7 separate regions of the Homo sapiens genome follow, and regions 2, 3, 4, 5, 6 and 7 are each linked to region 1. Evidence: promoter capture Hi-C in 16 types of primary human blood cells and fetal thymus (Javierre and others, 2016). All regions are on one chromosome and are shown on one strand. The core of a region is centred on a gene start or on the middle of the fragment in contact, and the rest is flanking DNA. Distances in the headings are between cores, read along the strand shown.

The links. The method cuts DNA at HindIII sites, captures the fragments that hold promoters and counts their contacts. A CHiCAGO score of 5 or more calls a contact.
Region 2: a contact is called between a fragment that was not itself captured here and the fragment with the promoter of RSL24D1 in region 1, in 3 of 17 cell types (non-activated CD4 T cells, total CD8 T cells and naive CD4 T cells). The highest score is 7.4, in non-activated CD4 T cells.
Region 3: a fragment that was not itself captured here is called in contact with the fragment with the promoter of RSL24D1 in region 1 in 1 of 17 cell types (non-activated CD4 T cells); the score reaches 5.4 in non-activated CD4 T cells.
Region 4: the fragment with the promoter of GABPB1 here is called in contact with the fragment with the promoter of RSL24D1 in region 1 in 1 of 17 cell types (non-activated CD4 T cells); the score reaches 10.2 in non-activated CD4 T cells.
Region 5: a fragment that was not itself captured here is called in contact with the fragment with the promoter of RSL24D1 in region 1 in 4 of 17 cell types (non-activated CD4 T cells, naive CD4 T cells, total CD8 T cells and 1 more); the score reaches 13.1 in non-activated CD4 T cells.
Region 6: a contact is called between a fragment that was not itself captured here and the fragment with the promoter of RSL24D1 in region 1, in 1 of 17 cell types (fetal thymus). The highest score is 7.9, in fetal thymus.
Region 7: a fragment that was not itself captured here is called in contact with the fragment with the promoter of RSL24D1 in region 1 in 2 of 17 cell types (non-activated CD4 T cells and activated CD4 T cells); the score reaches 13.0 in non-activated CD4 T cells.

What each region holds. Positions count from the first base shown.
Region 1 is chr15:55,195,625-55,198,324 of GRCh38, reverse strand. It overlaps RSL24D1 (ribosomal L24 domain containing 1), which reads left to right and starts at 1,384. Exons shown (of 6, transcript NM_016304.3): 1 at 1,384-1,515. The coding sequence starts at 1,435. RefSeq lists enhancers at 1,420-1,579, 1,373-2,264. The HindIII fragment of the contact is 1,416 bases long and covers 1-1,398 here.
Region 2 is chr15:50,903,909-50,906,608 of GRCh38, reverse strand. No RefSeq gene overlaps it. Among named protein-coding and RNA genes, the nearest start is that of AP4E1, 3.4 kb to the left of the region's middle. The HindIII fragment of the contact is 188 bases long and covers 1,335-1,522 here.
Region 3 is chr15:52,175,031-52,177,730 of GRCh38, reverse strand. All of the region lies in intron 3 of GNB5 (G protein subunit beta 5), which reads left to right. Among named protein-coding and RNA genes, the nearest start is that of CERNA1, 3.6 kb to the left of the region's middle. The HindIII fragment of the contact is 4,470 bases long and covers 1-2,700 here.
Region 4 is chr15:50,353,748-50,356,447 of GRCh38, reverse strand. It overlaps GABPB1 (GA binding protein transcription factor subunit beta 1), which reads left to right and starts at 1,250. Exons shown (of 9, transcript NM_016654.5): 1 at 1,250-1,463. It overlaps GABPB1-IT1 (GABPB1 intronic transcript), which reads left to right and starts at 1,569. Exons shown (of 1, transcript NR_026891.1): 1 at 1,569-2,700. GABPB1-AS1 (GABPB1 antisense RNA 1) reads right to left here and starts at 2,274. Exons shown (of 1, transcript NR_024490.1): 1 at 1-2,274. RefSeq lists enhancers at 697-776, 845-1,468, 2,207-2,266 and silencers at 977-1,026, 1,607-1,856, 1,867-2,076. The HindIII fragment of the contact is 652 bases long and covers 805-1,456 here.
Region 5 is chr15:51,728,655-51,731,354 of GRCh38, reverse strand. The region is part of intron 1 of LYSMD2 (LysM domain containing 2); the gene reads left to right. Among named protein-coding and RNA genes, the nearest start is that of LYSMD2, 7.6 kb to the left of the region's middle. The HindIII fragment of the contact is 4,514 bases long and covers 1-2,700 here.
Region 6 is chr15:59,693,147-59,695,846 of GRCh38, reverse strand. No RefSeq gene overlaps it. Among named protein-coding and RNA genes, the nearest start is that of BNIP2, 5.2 kb to the right of the region's middle. The HindIII fragment of the contact is 5,936 bases long and covers 1-2,700 here.
Region 7 is chr15:51,824,660-51,827,359 of GRCh38, reverse strand. No RefSeq gene overlaps it. Among named protein-coding and RNA genes, the nearest start is that of TMOD3, 3.6 kb to the left of the region's middle. The HindIII fragment of the contact is 641 bases long and covers 975-1,615 here.

The DNA.
Region 1 (2,700 bases), core at 135-2,634:
ATAATTTCTAAATGCATGTCAGCAAAGGACTAACCTTAACGTGTAAAGTGCTGTTGAAAATCAACGAAAGAATAGAAAACTGCGTAGGACCTGAACAGGCAATTCACAGAAAAAAGCTGAAAAACATTGTGAAAGATTCTTAACATCATTTGTAATTAAATTCAAGTTGAAATAATAATAAGATAAATTTTCATCTCAGGTTGGCAAAGATCACTTTTCACAGCGGGGTAGTGAAACAGACATCTTATTTGTTGATGCTGAGTGTTAATTGGTAAAAACTTTTGGAAGGCAATTTAGTATTATCTGCCAAATTTTAAAACTATTTATCTATATCCAGCTCCTCTGATCCAGCAGTTCTACATAAACCCTCTCCTGAAAAAGCGTACCAACAGATACTTATTATATCAAAAGATAAGAATGCCCATCGATTAGTGACCAATTAAAATACTTTCATACAATGGCATATATATATGAAAAAGAATGTTAAATACCCTTTTACAGTAAAATATGTATCAAATGCCTATTATGTGCCAGGGACTGTTCTAGATACTGGGATGTAGTTGTAAACCAAACGAACTGAAATCCCTGCCCCTCATGGAGCTCACATTCCAATGAAGGGATACAAGGTAACAGCAAGATGCAGAAAAGAGTAAATAGCATATTAACTAGTATTATAAAGAAGAGGACGTAGAGACAGGCAAACACACAAATATACATGTTTGCCTATGCACAGAAAAGCTCTGGCAGGTAATAAATGGAACTGTTTTGCCCCTGGGGAGGAAGACCGCAGGTCTAGGGAGGGAGTCGTAGTTTCCGGCGAAAATATTTGTTTACTACATATGCATATTAATTAAAATGGGGGGGAGGCGGATAACACGATTTTATATTTAAAAAAATTGCTGGTAAAGTCCTTGGAGCATCAGCAACTCAACCGTTTTCATTGCAATGTTCGAAGCAACGCTGGATTGCAGGGTCTTCGCCGCTTACACCCTGCAAATCACTGTGGGACGAGAATCGAGGGCTGGTCTAGGGCAGGCAGTAGACAAATGAGTTAAGAGAGTGCTCTCGAGAGCACTCCGAGGCAAAGCACAAACCAAAGATACATAATACTTGCATAAATGCCGACACACAGAGAGAAAAAACTAGGCGCTGTGAGAGCAAGTTCACAAGGTGGCGCAGAACCACATTTCCCCAAAGTAACAGCGAACAGGTCTAGTCTGCAGCTCTGCGCCTGCGTCAAACGGCAGCGCATTTGACCACACGGCCGCCGGAGGCACAGTCGTGTTCGCATCTGGTCTAACAGACCCGCGAGAACGAAGGACGCTTGCCTTTTTCCGGTCGGGGAAGGGGGAAGAAGGTAACTTCCGGTGACGGGGTTGCATCACTTCCTCTCAAGCTTGGCGTTTGTTTGGTGGGGTTACACGCGGGTTCAACATGCGTATCGAAAAGTGTTATTTCTGTTCGGGGCCCATCTATCCTGGACACGGCATGATGTTCGTCCGCAACGATTGCAAGGTAAGGCGGTCGACACCAGTTCTTGCTTCAGCCTAGCTCCCGCGGTTCCTGGGCGCGGCGGCTCGGTGCTGGGTGCTTCTGCGTCTGCCGTGTTTGGCCCGGGTTCCTCCCGTTGTTCCCCTGGGAGGGTGGCTTAACTGGGCCTCCGTTCTCAACGTTCCGCTTCGGGGGTTTCTCCTTGCCCGTCTTCCGAGCGGCGCTGGCCACCACGCCACCCTTGGGTGGCGTTGGCAGCGAGGAACTTCAGGAGCGATCCCAGCTAGCGCCTACCAGGAATCTTGGATGTCTGTGAGGGCTGTTTGGCCACTCATGTACTTGGGCCAAATTCTTGAATCCAGTAAACTTTGTTGAGTGTATACCCTGTCAGGCATTACACTAAGGTCCATACTAAAGTGTAGAGGTTGATGGAAGTGTTCCGTATTGCTTAATGGTAGAGTTATGTATTAAGTTACTGCAGGTGAGTTGGGGAGGGTCCTGTACGGAAAGACTCAGCATAGAGGTGATATTTATCTTGGATCCTGAATTTTGCGGAAGAAAGCGGAGGGGGCCTTCTAAGTGGAAGGAAAGTGAACATTTTGAGAAAAGGCAGAGAACGGAGCAAATACATTTGTTTGAGGAAGTGACTGGATTGTAAATGATGATAGAGCCTTGGGCGTAGGGCTACAAGTATAATAAGTCTGTAAACGTAAATAATAAATATGAGTCCTAGTTGTGAAAGACGTTTTGAATGGTACATGAATTTGTCCTGTCATTACAGAATGAATCCCGTTCCTCTCTTTCTCAGAGAAACACATTGTTTCTCAGAATTTGATCTCTTACGTTTGCTTCTGAATTACTGGGCGTTTACAGATTCCTGGTTTTCACCAGATCTATTGAGTTGGAATCTTTGGGGGAGGGGAAGAGGGTCTAAGAATCTGTATATTAAGGTGAATTTGACGTGCTAAATAATTACAAGTCTGACTTCTTCACCTTATATCTCTGTAACAGATCAAAGATATTGACCTCATTAATTAGATCCAAGGGATTCAGCTGAAAGTGACGGACCAAAGCCATGTTTGATAACGTAAAAGAACCTAGAAGATTTTGAATACTTGCTCTCAGGAACATGATAAGAAGTTTATAAAAATGAACCAAAAGATTGCCAGGTTGGGGTCTAATTCAGAGTAGGCAGTATGGTTTTATACA
Region 2 (2,700 bases), core at 179-2,678, 4.3 Mb after region 1:
ACAGGCGCCCGCCACCATGCCCGGCTAATTTTTGTATTTTTAGTAAACACAGAGTTTCACCATTTTGGCCAGGCTGGTCTCGAACTCCTGACCTCAGGTGATCCGCCCACCTCAGCCTCCCAAAGTGCTGGGATTACAAGCGCGAGCCACTGCGCCCAGCCAGAAAGGGATACTCTTTTAGAATTTAATTTTGTTATTTTATTATTATTTTTTGAGATGGTGTCTCGCTCTGTTGCCCAGGATGGAGTGCAGTGGTGTGATCTCGGCCCACTGCAACCTCCGCCTCCCAGGTTCAAGCAGTTCTCCTGCCTCAGCCTCCCGAGTAGCTGGGATTACAGGTGCGTGCCACCACACCCGGCTAATTTTTTGTATTTTTAGTAGAGATGTGGTTTCACCACGTTGGCCAGGATGGCCTCGGTCTCCTGACCTCATGATCTGCCCGCCTCAGCCACTCAAAGTGCTGGGATTACAGGTGTGAGCCACCACGCCCTGCCTAGAATTTAATATTTTGTCGTCCGGGCGCGGTGGTTTATGCCTATATTCTAGCACTTTGGGAGGCCAAGGCGGGCAGATTGTCTGAGCTCAGGAGTTCCAGACCAACCTGGCCAACATGGTGAAACCCCGTCTCTACTAAAAATACAAAATATTCGGACAGGCACGGTGGCTCCCACCTGTAATCACAGCACTTTGGGAGGCCAAGGTGCACAGACCACAAGGTCAGGATATCAAGACCAGCCTGGCCAACCTATGACTCTACTAAAAAAATACAGAAATTAGCCGGGCATGGTGGCGTGCGCCCGTAATCCCAGCTACTCGGGAGGCTGAGGCAGGAGAATTGCTGGGACCCGGGAGGCGGAGGTTGCAGTGAGCCGAGATTTCACCACTGCACTCCAGCGTGGGCGACAGAGCAAGACTCCACCTCAAAAAAAAAAAAATACAAAAAATTTAGCCGGGCATGGTGGCACACCTGTAGTCCCAACTACTTGGGAAGCTGAGGCAGGAGAATTGCTTGAACCTAGGAGGCGAAGGTTGCAGTGAGCCAAGATCGCACCACTGTACTCCAGCCTGGGTGACAGAGCAAGACTCTGTCTCCAAAAAAAAAAGGAATTTAATATTTTATCTTTAAATTAAATTTTGTTTTATGTATAGTTTTTTAATTTTAGGTTCTTCCATTGGCTTAAAAAGGGGATACTAGAAGATTCGCTTTCTAACCTTCCCGTCTGTAAAGATGCCGAAAAAGATGAAGCTGACATCAGTATCAGAATTCACTGACTCAGGGAAAGGGAGAAATCTGGTCGAAACTATAAATAACAAAGGAAAGTATGACAAAAGCTTCTTTCTTTCCCTTGGCATTAGAGATGTTAATCACTTGCCTTATTTTATGTCATTCAACAGAACATTTTCAAATACTATTATGGTGCCAATCAAGTTGAGGCATCATTTTCAGACCAGTCAGAATTTAAAAGAAAGGGAATTTAATACTTTCAACATAGAGATGATATGCTTTATAAAAGCCAAAGCTTTTGTATTACCATTTTCAAAGTAAAAATGAAAAACCTACTGAAGCATCTTACACATGAAATTATTATATTTCATTGATAGGAGAAGGACATGCAATAGCTAAAAGACTAATGAATGCCTGCTAGCTGATAATCAGTAAAAGAACTCATGGGAGTGCTACTTTCCAAAGATGCAATAACTCACCAAATTAGACATTTAGTTGCAGGCCAGGCGAGGTGGCTCATGCCTGTAATCCCTGAATTTTGGGAGGCCAAGGCAGGCGGATAACTTGAGATCAGGAGTTTGAGACCAACCTGGCCAATATGGTGAAACCCTGTCTCTACTAAAAATACAAAAAAAAAAAATTAGCTGGGCATGGTGGTACATGCCTGTAATCCCAGTTATTCGGGAGGCTGAGGCTGGAGAATCACTTGAACCTGGGAGGCAGAGGTTACAGTGAGCTGAGATGGTGCCACGGCACTCCAGCCTGGACAACAGAGCAAGACTGTCTCAAAAAAAAGAAAGAAATTTAGTTGCAAATATAAAGACTGAGTTACTATGTCATCTGCAGAATTATAATTCCTTTAAAATGGACATAATTATTCATGTAGCTGGACTTGTTGCTTTGCTTATACCCATCCAGTGTCAGCACCAACTAATTCTTGAAGATCCTCTTTTACATAAATCTTGACAAGAAACACAAGTGGTGATGAAATAATGTATTGAACAACTTCTTTGAATCTCATAGTTTATCCTGGAACAATACACTCAATTTTTTTTAAGTCAGTTTCACTTAAGAATATCCTTGATGAAGCAGTAAGAATTCTTAATTTTATTAAATTTCAGTCTTTGAGTGCACTTTTTAAAAAATTTTTTTTGTGACAAAATGGGAAGTACTCATAAAGTACAACCTCATAAAGTATAAACTCTTAAATCCTGAGGCTTTTCTTTTGGCCGGGTGTGGTGGCTCAGGCCTATAATCCCAGCACTTTGGGAGGCTGAGGCGGGCAGAGCACCTGAGGTCAGGGGTTCGAAACCAGCCTGGCCAACGTGGTGAAACCCCATCTCTACTAAAAATGCAAAATTACCTGCGCGTGGTGGCACATGCCTGTAATCCCAGCTACTTGGGAGGCTGAGGCAGGAGAATCACTTGAACCCGGGAGGCGGAGGTTGCAGTGAGCTGAGATCGTGCCATTGCAC
Region 3 (2,700 bases), core at 45-2,544, 3.0 Mb after region 1:
CTTCCCCTTTGACATGTCTCCTGATCTCCCAGCCAGGTTCTCTCATTTCTCTACTTTTCTTTTCTTTTTTTTTTTTTTTTGACACGGAGTCTCCCTCTGTCACCCAGGCTGGAGTACAATGGCACAGTCTTGGCTTACTGCAACCTCCACCTCCCAGGTTCAAGTGTTTCTCCTGCCTCAGCCTCCCAAGTAGCTGGGACTATAGGCATGTGCCACCACACCCAAGTAATTTTTGTATTTTTAGTAGGCTTCACCATGTTGGCCAGGCTGGTCTCGAACTCCTGACCTCAAGTGATCTGCCCGCCTGAGCCTCCAAAAGTACTGGGATTACAGGTGTGAGCCACCGCACTCAGCCATTCTTTTCTTTATTCATCTTTATTTTTAAGAGACAGGGTCTCGGACCGACAGGGTGGCTCACGCCTGTAATCCCAGCACTTTGGGAGGCCAAGGCGGGTGGATCATGAGGTCAGGAGATTGAGACCATCCTGGCCAACATGGTGAAACCCCGTCTCTACTAAAAATACAAAAATTAGTTGGGCATGGTGGCAGGTGCCTGTAATCTCAGCTACTTGGGAGGCTGAGGCAGGAGAATAGCTTAAACCAGGGAGTTGGAGGTTGCAGTGAGCCGAGATCTTGCCACTGCACTCCAGCCTGGGCGACAGAGCGAGACTCCGTCTCAAAAAAAAAAAAAAAAAAAAAAAAGGAGGAGCTAGGCAGAGGCCCCAGGAGGGGGTGTGTTTGGTGTATCTGATGTATCTGAGGAAGAGTGAGGAGGCAGGTGTGTCTGGAGGGGAGTATGCAGGGCAGAGTCCAGCTGCAGGTTATGCTGGGAGCTCATGCAGGACCCCATGGGTGCAGTGAAGATTTGGGCTCTTACTCCCAGTGAGTTGGGAAACCCTTGGAGGGTTTTGAGAGAGAGGATGGATCTGATTGCTTTACTGGGCTCACTCTGCCTGCCATGTTTTGTGGCAGAACAAGACAGCTTGAGGGAGGGAAATGAAGTGTGAGAGGTAAGTGACCTGGGGTAAGAGTTCTTGACAAATGTCTCTTTCCCTCTTATCAGAGAGCCTACCTTGCGTGCCACTTGCCAGCTCCTAATGGAAGTTACAGCTGAAGGTGGAAGAGCGAGAGATGATTTCTGAGCTTGTCTTGGTCCCATAGTTGACCCTGCAGCCGCTCTTACCTTACCCCAGCCCAGACTCGCCCAGCTCCTTCCTAAGTGTGTTTGTCCCTTGGCACTCAGGTGGGAAAGGGAGGAAAGGATGCTGATGAGTTTTACTTGTGGAAGTATAAGCTAGAGCCCTGCCAGGTGCAAACAACAGTGCTGTCATTTTTCCCTGTATGAAGGAAAGTGGTATCATCCCCATCTGTGCGATGAGCGAGCAGGCTTAGCAAAGTCGAATAATTCCTTCAGGGTCATGCAGCTGGTTAGTGATTGGGCCAGGATTCAGTTTAGGAATGATGCAGCTTTCTTTGCAGGGCTCCCCATTGAGCAAGTGGCTGAGAGCCTGGGGGAAGGTGGGAAGGGTCTGGTGAGGCTGGGGAGGACCATAAACTGAATCTGTTCACTCCCCAGAGCAGGGGCTGGCAGCATGCACTTTCCTGTATCTCTTATGGTGACTGGCAGCCCCTTAGTTAACAGATGTTTTTGTTTGTTTGTTTGTTTTGTTTTGTTTTTTTTTGAGATGGAGTCTGGCTCTGTTGCCCAGGCTGGAGTGCAATGGCATGATCTCAGCTCGCTACAACCTCCACCTCCTGGGTTCAAGCAGTTCTCCTGCCTCAGCCTCCTGAGTAGCTGGGATTACAGGCACATGCCATCACACCTGGCTAATTTTTGTATTTTTAGTAGAGACAGAGTTTCACTGTGTTAACCAGGCTGGTCTCGAACTCCTGACCTTGTGATCCGTCCACCTTGGCCTCCCAAAGTGCTGGGATTACAGGTGTGACCCACTGCGCCTGGCCGTTTTTTGTTTGTTTGTTTGTTTGTTTTTTGAGACGGAGTCTCACTCTGTCGCCCAGGCTAGAGTCCAGTGGCACAATCTCAGCTCACTGTAAGTTCCACCACCCAGGTTCAAGCGATTCTCCTGCCTCAGCCTCCCAAGTAGCTGAGACTACAGGCATGTGCCACCATGCCTGGCTAATTTTTGTATTTTTAGTGGAGACCGGGTTTCACCATGTTGGACGGGCTGTTCTTGAACTCCTGACCTCAGGTGATCTGCCCGCCTCAGCCTCCCAAAGTGCTGGGATTACAGGCGTGAGCTAATGTGCCTGGCCTGACAGATTTGTTTCTGACACACACAGGCCTTGTTTCTTGCCCAGCTGAGATTCCCAGCCCCTGCTTCGTGATGACCTCTGCAGATATTTCCCATTTTGGAATCCAAGGATGGTTTCCTGTGAATTGGGAATGTGTGGCCAGACACATGAGTTTTATAGTACCAAATTAGGGTATGCGGCTGACACCAGAGGGGTATGGTTTATTCCCCAGAGCAACATGTGTTAGATGCCTGTACATTTTTGCATTTTAGTGTTGCTATATAGGTGGCCCAGTAGCCTCTGCCCTAGTCAGGGAGACCCCTTTAGGCTATCAGCTAAGGTAATCAACTCATCCCAGTTTGCCTGGGACCCTAGGTATGTGTGTTTGTTTGTTTGTTTGTTTTTGAGACAGAGTCTTGCTCTGTTACCCAGGCTGGAGTGCGGTGG
Region 4 (2,700 bases), core at 1-2,500, 4.8 Mb after region 1:
GAAAAACATCAGAATTTGGCAAATTTCTATTAACTGAAGAAATGAAAATATTAAATCAAAAGAAAACACAGCCTATGGTTCCTATGCTTTTTTTCTATTTTAGGCACAATGCTTTAATAAATTACACAAAGACTACAAACCTTTATTACATCAATTGTTACAAAAGGCTAAGTGGAGAAAGATTACTTATCTGAAGCTGCACAAAATCAGTGGGCAATATGGATTTCATTTAAGCTTGTCAATTCTCCTGGATTAAATTCTTGGCGCTGTCTCACATATTCCCAAGTCCTACATGTAGGATGCTAAAAGTTGCAGTTACTAGGTTGGGAAAGCCATGCCCAGACGCCCCTGTGAAAAACATATCAATATATTAAGTTCCTTAGCAAATCACATCTAGATTAAGTTCATAATGCTTTTTTTTTTTTTAACTTTGCAAATCTCCAAACTTTTGCTACTTTCTTAATAAAATACAACAAAATTTTTGGCATTCCAGCCACGGAAAAACAGATCTCTACCTCTGAGGTGGCAGTAATCCAAGCAGTTACTAGGATCTACGAAACATGAGGCATAATTAGAATGTTGGGGAAAAAATCTACAGAAATATCTATATCTTCGTCATGAACCTGACTGTTGAGTTTATGAAAAAGTGGAAAAGGAACCTCACTCGTTCCTTCCCTGGTACCTTCACAGCGTCTCCCGTCCCAGTCTGCCTAGTTGAATCTAGGGACACTTAAAGGTAAATCCTAGCCTCTTGGCTGTCCTTCCGTCTCCCAGGATTCTGCTAGGCCGCACAGTTGGCAAGCTTAAAACTCCAAAGATTCCGCACTCTCCGTCTTTCAACAGTCATGTCACAGAGACACGAAGGTTAGCACAGGAACATTAGTTTCCAAACTCCTACCCACCGCAGAACAGGCGGGAAGGTTCGGTGGCCACCCGGCCTCTCCGCCGCGCACATGGCCGTCCGCAGCTCCCACCCCCGCTGCCGCGCAGGCGCCGGGCGAGCCGGGACTTGCGGTCGCCGAGAGCGGATCATTCCGCCGCTTTCTTTGTGTGGCTGAAGCGCTAGAAATGGCATATTTTCTTTCCCTTCGTTAAAAAATCAGACCCTCTTTCCCCTCTCTCCCCGCGGGAACACAGCTAGGGAGTGGGTAGGAGCAGGATCTGCCGACGAGGGCAGAGGCGGAAAATCCTCGGGCGATGAGCTGAAGAGGGCCGGGTCCGGGAGGGATGCTGGGAGCTTGACTCACTCGCACACCATGTGTCCCTCCGCGCGCAGCACGGGGGACTTTTCGGTGGGGATTTTGGGCGCCGACCAGACGCGGCATTTTCGGAAAATAGCGCCCTGTGCAGCTGAAGCGCTTTGTGTGTAGCGGGGCCGCGTCAGCCCGGCCGGGTACGAGGCGCCTCGGGTCCCCGCACCACCTCCTGCTGCCTTCCCGTCGCCGCTCCCGAAGCTTTTCCAGGTCAGTGCGGGTCTGTGTAGGGCCCTGTTACCACCGGATGTGGAAGTTGATCTCTTCGCTGGTAAAAAATAATTCCACTTCCCCCGGAACCCAGATCATCCCCGCGATTTCCTGTTTATTGCATTAAGGCGCCGGGTTTCCGGGGCTCCTGGCCCCGCTTATTCCGCGGGGGTCGGCGGGGTCGGCCTGGGCGCCCGCGCCGCCGCTGCGCTTTGTCCGCTGGGCACACTGCTTCTGGGAGGGGCGGGCAGACATGGTGGCGGCCGCCGCCCCCTCCTCGGCCCTAGCATGCCGCGGCCGCCTCGCGGCTACCCGGCTTGCCGGTCCCGAGCGGCAGCCCCGGGGTGGCGATGGGGTCGCGCCGAGGCAGCGGAGGTTCTGCGGGCGACTGGAGGTTGGCAGTGGGCGGGAGAAAGAGGAAGGCAGGCGCGGCTGGGCCTCGGCCTCTGGCGCCGCGGTACCCTTTGTCTCGGCAGCCTGACGGCCCCGCCGGGCTCTCCGGAGAGGGGAACGGGCGGCGAGGGTGGCGGGTCCTGGGCGCCCTGTGCTGCGGGGCCGAGAGGCGCTCGGGTCGCGGCGGGATCGGCCGGACCAGACAGGGTTAATGGAAGAGCCTGGCCAGTCCCGCGCGGGGCCCCCGCAGCGACAGCCTTGGCCGCGGGGACTGGAGTCCTGAGGGGGAGAAGCCTGCCGTTCTGAAGGCTCGGGACTTCTGCCCCAAAGACTTCGCCGCCGAGAACTGCGGGTGCACTGCCTCAGGGAAGAAGTTGAGAATTTTGCCAGGTCATCTCTGCCAGGGCACAGTTCATCACTGTGTGTTTAGTGTGTTTCGGTGAAGCTCTCCAAGTGTGTTGAATCAGCGTGCCTAGCCTCAAGGGTGCATCGTGAAAACTGAAACCAAAGGAATGATACAGGCCTGCTTTGTGTGTGTCTTCCCACTTTAAGCTTGTTTTCAGTACAAATACTCTTGCTTTAAACCTGATTGGACTGTGGCGAGCGGACATCTGTTCAAAGGAGGGGCCGAGACCACAGTACTTCTGAAGGGGGCTTGATAATGTGGAAACATTTTAAGTTTTCTCTCCGGACTGTTTTGCTCTCTCAATTCAGGCAAGTTACTGAAGTACGTTTTTTATCTAGAAAAAGGTTTGATGTAGTCTGTAAATGGTCCTTGTAAAGTACATTGCCATCTCAGAATTAAAAGATCCACTCTCATTTATTATGCAGAAGTTAGTGGTCA
Region 5 (2,700 bases), core at 85-2,584, 3.5 Mb after region 1:
AGTTAAAGAGAAGATAACTATAAATAGAGCCACCAAAAGTGAGAGGTATGGCAAAGTAGCCTTTAGTCATTCGGGGTGTTTGTAGATTCTCATTATTTTTTTAAACACCTTTATTGAGGTTGTACACCACAAAATTCACCCATCTTAAGTGTACGATTCGATGACTTTAAGTAAATTTACAGAGTTGTGAGGCCATTGTTGGAATTCAGTGGTAGAACAGTTTCATCACCCCGAAAAGATCCCCATGCCCATCCATTCCTCTCACTCTTTGTTTCCTTCTTCAGTCTCAGACTACCACCAATATGCTTTCTAATCTATAGATTTGCCTTTTTTGGACATTTGCCATAAATAGAATCTCATGTACTTTTCTGACAGTGTGGGGAAGAAAAAAAGCCTTTTTCTCATGAACACATAGCAATGGAGGGGTCTGGTCTCATTGCCATCAACATCTAGAATGTAACAGGAGACAGATGTGGCGGTGAATCTTGGGAGAATCATTTAATATTGAAGTCTGTTTTCTGTAAACTAATAATCAGATGAGAGCTGTGTGCGTATATGAGAACATTCTGCAAGCCACACAGTGCTATGTACATGTTATTATGTATCCTGAAACATTTTTGGATGAGCTTATATCTTTTAAGGAATGGAGAGGAAGAAAAAGAAGTTTTGAGAATTGCATTCACTATTAGGTAGGTGGACTGATGATGCTGGCCCAAGATGGGAAGAGTTCTTGACCTTACTCAGCAGCCTGCTCTTAAGGTATCTTCTGGAGGGATGCTTTGTGAATTCCCTTCACAGGGGAATCATTGTATTTTATTTTATTAAAAAAAATTTTTTTTGAGACAGGGTCTTGCTCTGTCACCTGACCTGGAGCGCAGTGGCGAGATCTTGGCTAACTACAGCCTTGACCTCTCAGGCTCAAGCGATTCTCCTGCCTCATCCTCCCAAGTAGCTGGAACTATGGGAGTGCACCACCACACCCAGCTAAATGTTTTGGGGGATACTTTTTGGTAGAGATGGAGTTTCATCATGTTACCTAGGCTGGTCTCAAACTCTTGGGCTCAAGCAATCCATCTGCCTTGGCCTCCCAAAGTTTTGGGACTACAGGCATGAGCCACCACGCCTGGCTGGGGAGTCATTTTCAGTACGTTGTTTTTAAGTTATTGATGGCAGTTGTTCTACCTAATTTCACCATACTTGAACTTGTGACCACCCTTTGGCTGTTACTTTCCTTATTCTATAAACTGTTTCTTAGTGACCAGACAGTAAATTCATATTTCATTGAGTTACACTATTCAATCTAGGTTAAGGGAGACTTTTGAAATGAAAGCATTTGATCAGTGTACCTCCCCACTCCCATTCATCCATCCCTAAGAAACAGAGGATAGTCCTGCATCAGTTTGAAAGGACACATTTTCTAGTCTCAGCATTAATTGGATCTTAGGAAGTGTTGAACAGAGGGTAGGTGGGAAAGCTATAGAGTTTTCCAGCTCTTCCTTGGATTGGATCATGACTTTTCTTAGCTTTATATGAAGTGAAATTGCCAGAACAGTAGACCCAGCTACGTTCAGACAGAAGTATAAAACATACCAAAGGAGGCCAGGTGCGGTGGCTCATGCCTGTAATCCCAATACTTTGGGAGACCGAGGCAGGTGGATCACAAGGTCAGGAGATCAAGACCATCCTGGCTAACACGGCGAAAGCCCGTCTCTACTAAAAATACAAACAATTAGCCAGGCATGGTGGCATGCACCTGTAATCCCAGCTACTTGGGAGGCTGAGGCAGTAGAATAGCTTAAACCCGGGAGGAAGAGGTTGCAGTGAGCCGAGATCGTGCCACTGCACTCCAGTCTGGGTGACAGAGCGAGACTGCATCTCAAAAACAATAAAAATAAATAAATAAAAACATACCAAAGCAAAAGAAAACATCGTTTCACCATTTTGTATTTTTCAGTTTGTTGTCTGTGCTATGGCAGGTGCCTCTTTCTTGCTAATCCATTTTCTGCACCCAGCTGCTGAAGCAATCTTTAACTGTGATCAGATCATGTCACTCCCTGCCTTCACTCTCCAGTGGCTTCTCATCACATTTAAAATAAATTCCAAATTCCTTAACTTGGCACCCAAGGCCCTGCCTGGTTGGAAGTTTGCTTATTACTCCCTACACTTTAGCCACATGATTTTTTTCCTGCCCCAGGGCATTTGCTACTCCTTTTTCTAGATGGAATGCTTTTATTCCTGGCGCTTTGCATGTCTGATTTCATATTTCATCATGGGTAACAGAGTTTAGAGCCTATGCATTTGGCCTAAGCCATAGCTTGTAAAGAACAGGTTAAGATTTTCATTACCTTTTGAAAAACCTATTCAAAGCCTTTTGTGACATCTCAAAGCAGTGATGATATATTATGGTATTCATCTGGGCTTATCCATGTGAGATTTTCCCTATATATTCTTACTTTGGGGGAGAAACAAATTTTTTTTTTTTTTTGAGATGGAGTCTCACTCTGTCACCCAGGGTGGAGTACAATGGCACAATCTCGGCTTACTGCAACCTCTGCCTCCCAGGTTCAAGCGATTCTTCTGCCTCAGCCTCCCTAGTAGCTGTGATTACAGGCACCTGCCATCATGCCTGGCTAATTTTTGTATTTTTAGTAAAGATGGGGTTTCACCATGTTGGCTAGGCTGGTCTTGAACTCCTGACCT
Region 6 (2,700 bases), core at 118-2,617, 4.5 Mb before region 1:
ACCCTGAACACTGTTATCATTCTTTTTTTTTTTTCTTTTTCTTTTTTGACACAGAGTCTCACTCTGTCACCCAGGCTGGAGTACAGTGGCATGATCTCAGCTCACTGCAACCTCCGCCTCCCAGGTTCAAGCAATTCTCCTGCCTCAGCCTCCCAAGTAGTTGGGATTACAGGCACGCACCACCACGCCCAGCTAATTTTTGTATTTTTAGAGACAGGGTCTCACCATTTTGGCCAGGATGATCTCAATTTCTTGACCTCATGATCCGCCCACCTCGGCCTCCCAAAGTGCTGAGATTACAGGTGCGAGCCACCACACCTGGCCTATTATCATTCTTTCAAGAAGTTGTCAGAGGGCCTGTTCTCATCAGTCTGATACATCACTCCCTGTTAGCATAGGTCAGATGGTGTCTTCTGCCTCCCCGTCTAGCCATCATGTCCATGCCTTCAGCCTTTCATCACTATCCACCACTCTCGGCACAGGCTCAACACCTCTTCCAAGTCTATGTTGGCTGAGCACTTTTATTTTAATGTACAAAGTGTGACAAAGTATCATAAATGCTTTTAACACATACTGAAGCATATATTCAAATGAGTGCTGCCTTTCTCAAAGTTCGTTGTCTTAGGAGGACTCATCCTAACGCTGCTGCCACTGTGCAGGATACCTTTCAATCTCTTCTTTTGGAATTCGATTATAAATTAATAGATGATTCCTTTTCCACATTGCTCATTATATTGGCTACAAATAAATCCTTACCATTAAAAAAAATCCCTTTTTAATCTGGCCTTTGACTACTTCCTTTTTGTTAAGGGCTATTTACAGCCACCCCTTCTCCCATTGCTTGTGCTCTGGTCATGCTGAACACTGCAGTTCCTAGAAGCCTCTGTGAATCTGCATATTCCAATTCCCTCTGCCAGAAAGATCATCCTCTTGTTACTAAGCTCAAGATCTCCTCATTCAGAAAACCTCTACTGCCTTTATCTCCCACTCTCTAATCTGTTTAGCTCCCTTCAATTTAGCTGCACCTTAAAAGTACCAAGGTCACCTCAATCCACCAAATTGTTTATTGTCTTCATTGCTCCTCTCCCTAACCAGTTGATAAGCTCTTTGAATGCAGATACTATGTCTTTTTTTTTCCTGCATCCTCGGGGCCCAACAGCATTGATTTATGATATTGTTCAATAAAGATTTACTGGCCAGGTGTGGTGGCTCCCACCTGTAATCCCAGCAATTTGAGAGGCTGAAGCAGGCAGATCACTTAAGGTCAGGAGTTGGAGACCAGCCTGGTCAACATGGCGAAACCCTGTCTCTACTAAAAAATGAAAGTAAAAAGATTAGCCGGGTGTGGTGGCACACGCCTATAGTCCTGCTACTCTGATGGCTGAGGCACAAACCCAGAAGGCGAAGGTTGCAGTGAGCCAAGATCGTGCCACTGCACTCCAGCCTAGATGGCAGAGTGAAACCCTGTCTCAGAACATATATATATATATATCTCAAGCGGGCATGGCAGAGCACTTCGAGAGGCTGAGGCAGGAGGATTGCTTGAGGCCAGGAGTTCGAGACCAGCCTAGGTAAAATAGCAAGACCCCATTTCTAAATAAATATTTAAATAAGTAAATAAAGATGTATCAAATGAATGGATACTTGAAAGAAGTGGGTAATCTAAAATGACAACTTTGAAAGTAAACATTCATTTGACTGAGTCCTAGGTGAGTTCAAGAATTACTGGATTATTCAATAAATGCTTTTACACAAACTCTTTAGTCAGTTTAGTAAAGTCAGACTCCCTATTCATATCATAAGCACATACACAAAATGCCAATTGGATTTAATATTCATATGTAAAAAAAAAAAGAAAAGAAAAAAGAAAAAGAAACTATAAGACCACCAGAAGAAAACAACAGTGATGGGCCGGGCGCAGTGGCTCACTGTAATCCCAGCACTTTGGGAGGCTGAGGCGGGCGGATCACGAGGTCAGGAGTTCAAGATCAACCTGGCCAAAATGGTGAAACCCTGTCTCCACTAAAAATATAAAAATTAGCTGGGCGTGGTGGCAGGCACCTATAATCCCAGCTACTTGGGAGGCTGAGGCAGATAATTGCTTGAACCCAGGAGATGGAGGTTGCAGTGAGCCGAGATCACGCCACTGCACTCCAGCCTGGGCGACAGAGCGAGACTCCGTCTCAAAAAAAAAAGAAAAAGAAAACAACAGTGACTATACAATTTTAGTGTGAGGAATGCCTATTTAAACATAACACCAAAAACTACACAAGAAAAGGCTGACCATGGCTCTGAGCTAATGTATCACTCTCCAAGTGTTACCTGCTATGTAGGGCATAAGGGCTGGAAGCCATGCTTTTTTTTCCACGGAATTTTTCCCCAATTTTTAAGAGCTTAAATATCTGCCTATTCAAGGAAACAATAAGTAATTGTAAAAATACCCTAAATCTTGTCCAAAAAGTCTGGAAACACAGGGAATACAGTGGGTTTTTTTGTTTGTTTGTTTTTTGAGACAGAGTCTCGCTCTGTCATCCAGGCTGGAGTTCAGTTGCGCGACCTCGGCTCACTGAAACGTCCACCTCCCAGGTTCAACCGATTTCCCTGCTTCAGCCTTCCAAGTAGCTGGGATTACAGATGTGTGCCACCACACCCAGCTAAATTTTGTATTTTTAGTAGAGGTGGGGTTTCACCATGTTGGCC
Region 7 (2,700 bases), core at 46-2,545, 3.4 Mb after region 1:
GTTCCTTTTTCTAAAATAATGCAGTTTGATGGTGGATTTTTTCCTTTCTTCAGGCATACATTATCATATTTTTATCACAAAGCTTATAAACATGAATCTCTTAAATCCGTGTACATTAAATACCACATATGGGGCCAGAGATGTTAAGAGTAATACCTTAGTATTGGATAGCACTGAAGAGGTAGAACCTTCCTCACTTCTTCCACTCCTTTGCTATAACACATTCGCTATATTAGCAGCCAGAATGACTTTTTTTTTTTTGAGACGGAGTCTCTGTCTGTCGCCCAGGCTGGAGTGCAGTGGCGTGATCTCTGCTCACTGCAACCTCTGCCTCCGGGGTTCAAGCAATTCTGCCTGCCTCAGCCTCCCTAGTAGCTGAGATTACAGGCCCCCCACCCCACCACACCCAGCTAATTTTTGTATTTTTTTAGTAGAGACGGGGTTTCGCCATGTTGACTAGGCTGGTCTTGAACTCCTGACCTCAGGTGATCTGCCCACTTTGGTCTCCCAAAGTGCTGGGATTACACGCGTGAGCTACCACTCCCAGCCCAGAATGATCTTTTAAAAACAAATCAGATCATATCACCATCTTGCTCCAAACCGTTCATGGCTTCCATCACATTTAGAATAAAATCCATAATTAACACCTCTACAAATCTGTATATGATTGTTTTGTTTCCTACCACATATTCTCTCTGATACTGCTCTAGTCATACTGGCCTCCCTGAGGTTTCTTAATCCTGCCAAGTTTCTCCCCATCTCAGAGTCTTTATGCTGTGCAGGAGAATGATTTTCCTCCCAGATGCTTCTAGCTCATGCCCTCATTTTAATGAAGGTTCTGCTCACATGTTACCTCTGAAAGTCTTCCTCTTACCACCTTACCCTGCCATTCTCTCCTTTCTTTACTTGTCGTCATAGCACTTTTACCACATAGCTTCATATTGCTTGTTTCCTTAGTGGAAGCTCAACAAGCTTTGCTTTGTTTACTCCTCCATCCCTAGCATCTACAATACTGCCTGCACACAGAAAGTATTCAATAAATATTTGTAAATAAATGAATGTTGGGTTCTTCCCTCTCTCTCCTACTCTCCTCTTGGGACACAGACCCAGAAGGTTCACCTGTAAATGCCAGCCAGTGACCTGATTTGGATGTAAACACCAGCTGCAAGAGGGTTGACTACACAGGAGAATAAGATCCTGTGAAAGTCCTGAAATAGAGACAGAGCTCTCTTTTAAAAAGGCTATAATTTAGGGTTGCCACTATTCCCTTAGAGTTGGAAACATAATTCTTGGAGGAAAACAAACAGGAAAAACATGGAAATTAGATTTACATAAATAAGTGAAAAGGTAAGTCCACTAAATACCTGTGGTAGATTGAAATATTGTTCCCACATATTTGCTCTCCTTTAGAGGAATAGACAGGCTTGCCCACTACTATGTGACTTCCAGTGCTGCCCCGCAGGCATTCCAGGCTTGGCTATGATCCCATGATGGGATTTTCCTCCTCTCTTCGGTTAAATGTCATATTGTAATCACAAAGTTTAGAAACATGAATCTTGCTTTGGTCAATAAAATATAAGTGGAAGGGACAATCCGACAGTTCTGGGTGGAAGCTTTAAGAGTCACTGCCTTTCTCTACTAGTGTGCCTGCTCTTTCCCTCCACCAAGAGAGACAAGTTCTGAATAGAGGCTGGTCCTTCTGCCTGGGTTCTAGAATAAGAAATTACATGGATCAGAGCCTCAGCCACTAGCTGACATAATATATAATGTGAGCGAAGGGGAAACTGAGGTTTAGGTTCGTTTGTTACTATAGACTTACTTAGCAAAAGCTGACTACTATAGTGCCTAATCAAAGAAACATGATGATCTGAACTAGAAGTGGTATGGCACCCCCAACCGTCTGCATTTAACCCACTTCAAGTAATGGAAAACTGTTGAAGTTCAACAGGCTAACACACTACAGAGAACAAATCTGAGGCCTTCAGGTAAAATATTTGAACAAGGGACAGAGTATGGTTCCCATTAGTGTTCAGGGTTTGGTTAGAGTGAAAGTGATTGATAAAATGACACTTCAACTCTACTTTATGTGTTAATATTACAAGCTCTAATTAGTGTTATCTCTAAACTTCCAGCCAGAATAACTCAGAAAGCATGTCACACTGAATCATCGTATGCTAATTAATAACAGCAGCACTTTTCTTGTTATCAAAGAGTTCCTTTAGGAAATAGTTACTTTGGTATATGTAAGCATATTTTGTGTGTATGTAAAAACGTGTATTTATAGGAGAGCTGAGAAAAACTAAAGACAAAAATTTGAAATGAAAAGGGAAGGATTTCATTATGGAAGCTTGGAGGTAGGAATCCTATGGAAGCAGTGGGAGGTAGCAATCACAGAAGACAAACATCATGGCTGGGTACATACCGGTTTTTTTTTTTTTTTTTTTTTTGAGATGGAGTCTCTCTCTGTCACCCAGGCTGGAGTGCAGTGGCGTGATCTTGGCTCACTGCAAGCTCCACCTCCCGGGTTCACACCATTCTCCTGCCTCAGCCTCCCAAGTAGCTGGGATTCCAGGTGTGCACAACCATGCCTGGCTAATTTTTGTATTTTTAGTAGAGACGGGGTTTCACCATGTTGGCCAGGCTGGTCTCAAACTCGTGACCTCAGGTGATCTGCCTTCCTTGACCTCCCAAAGTGCTGGG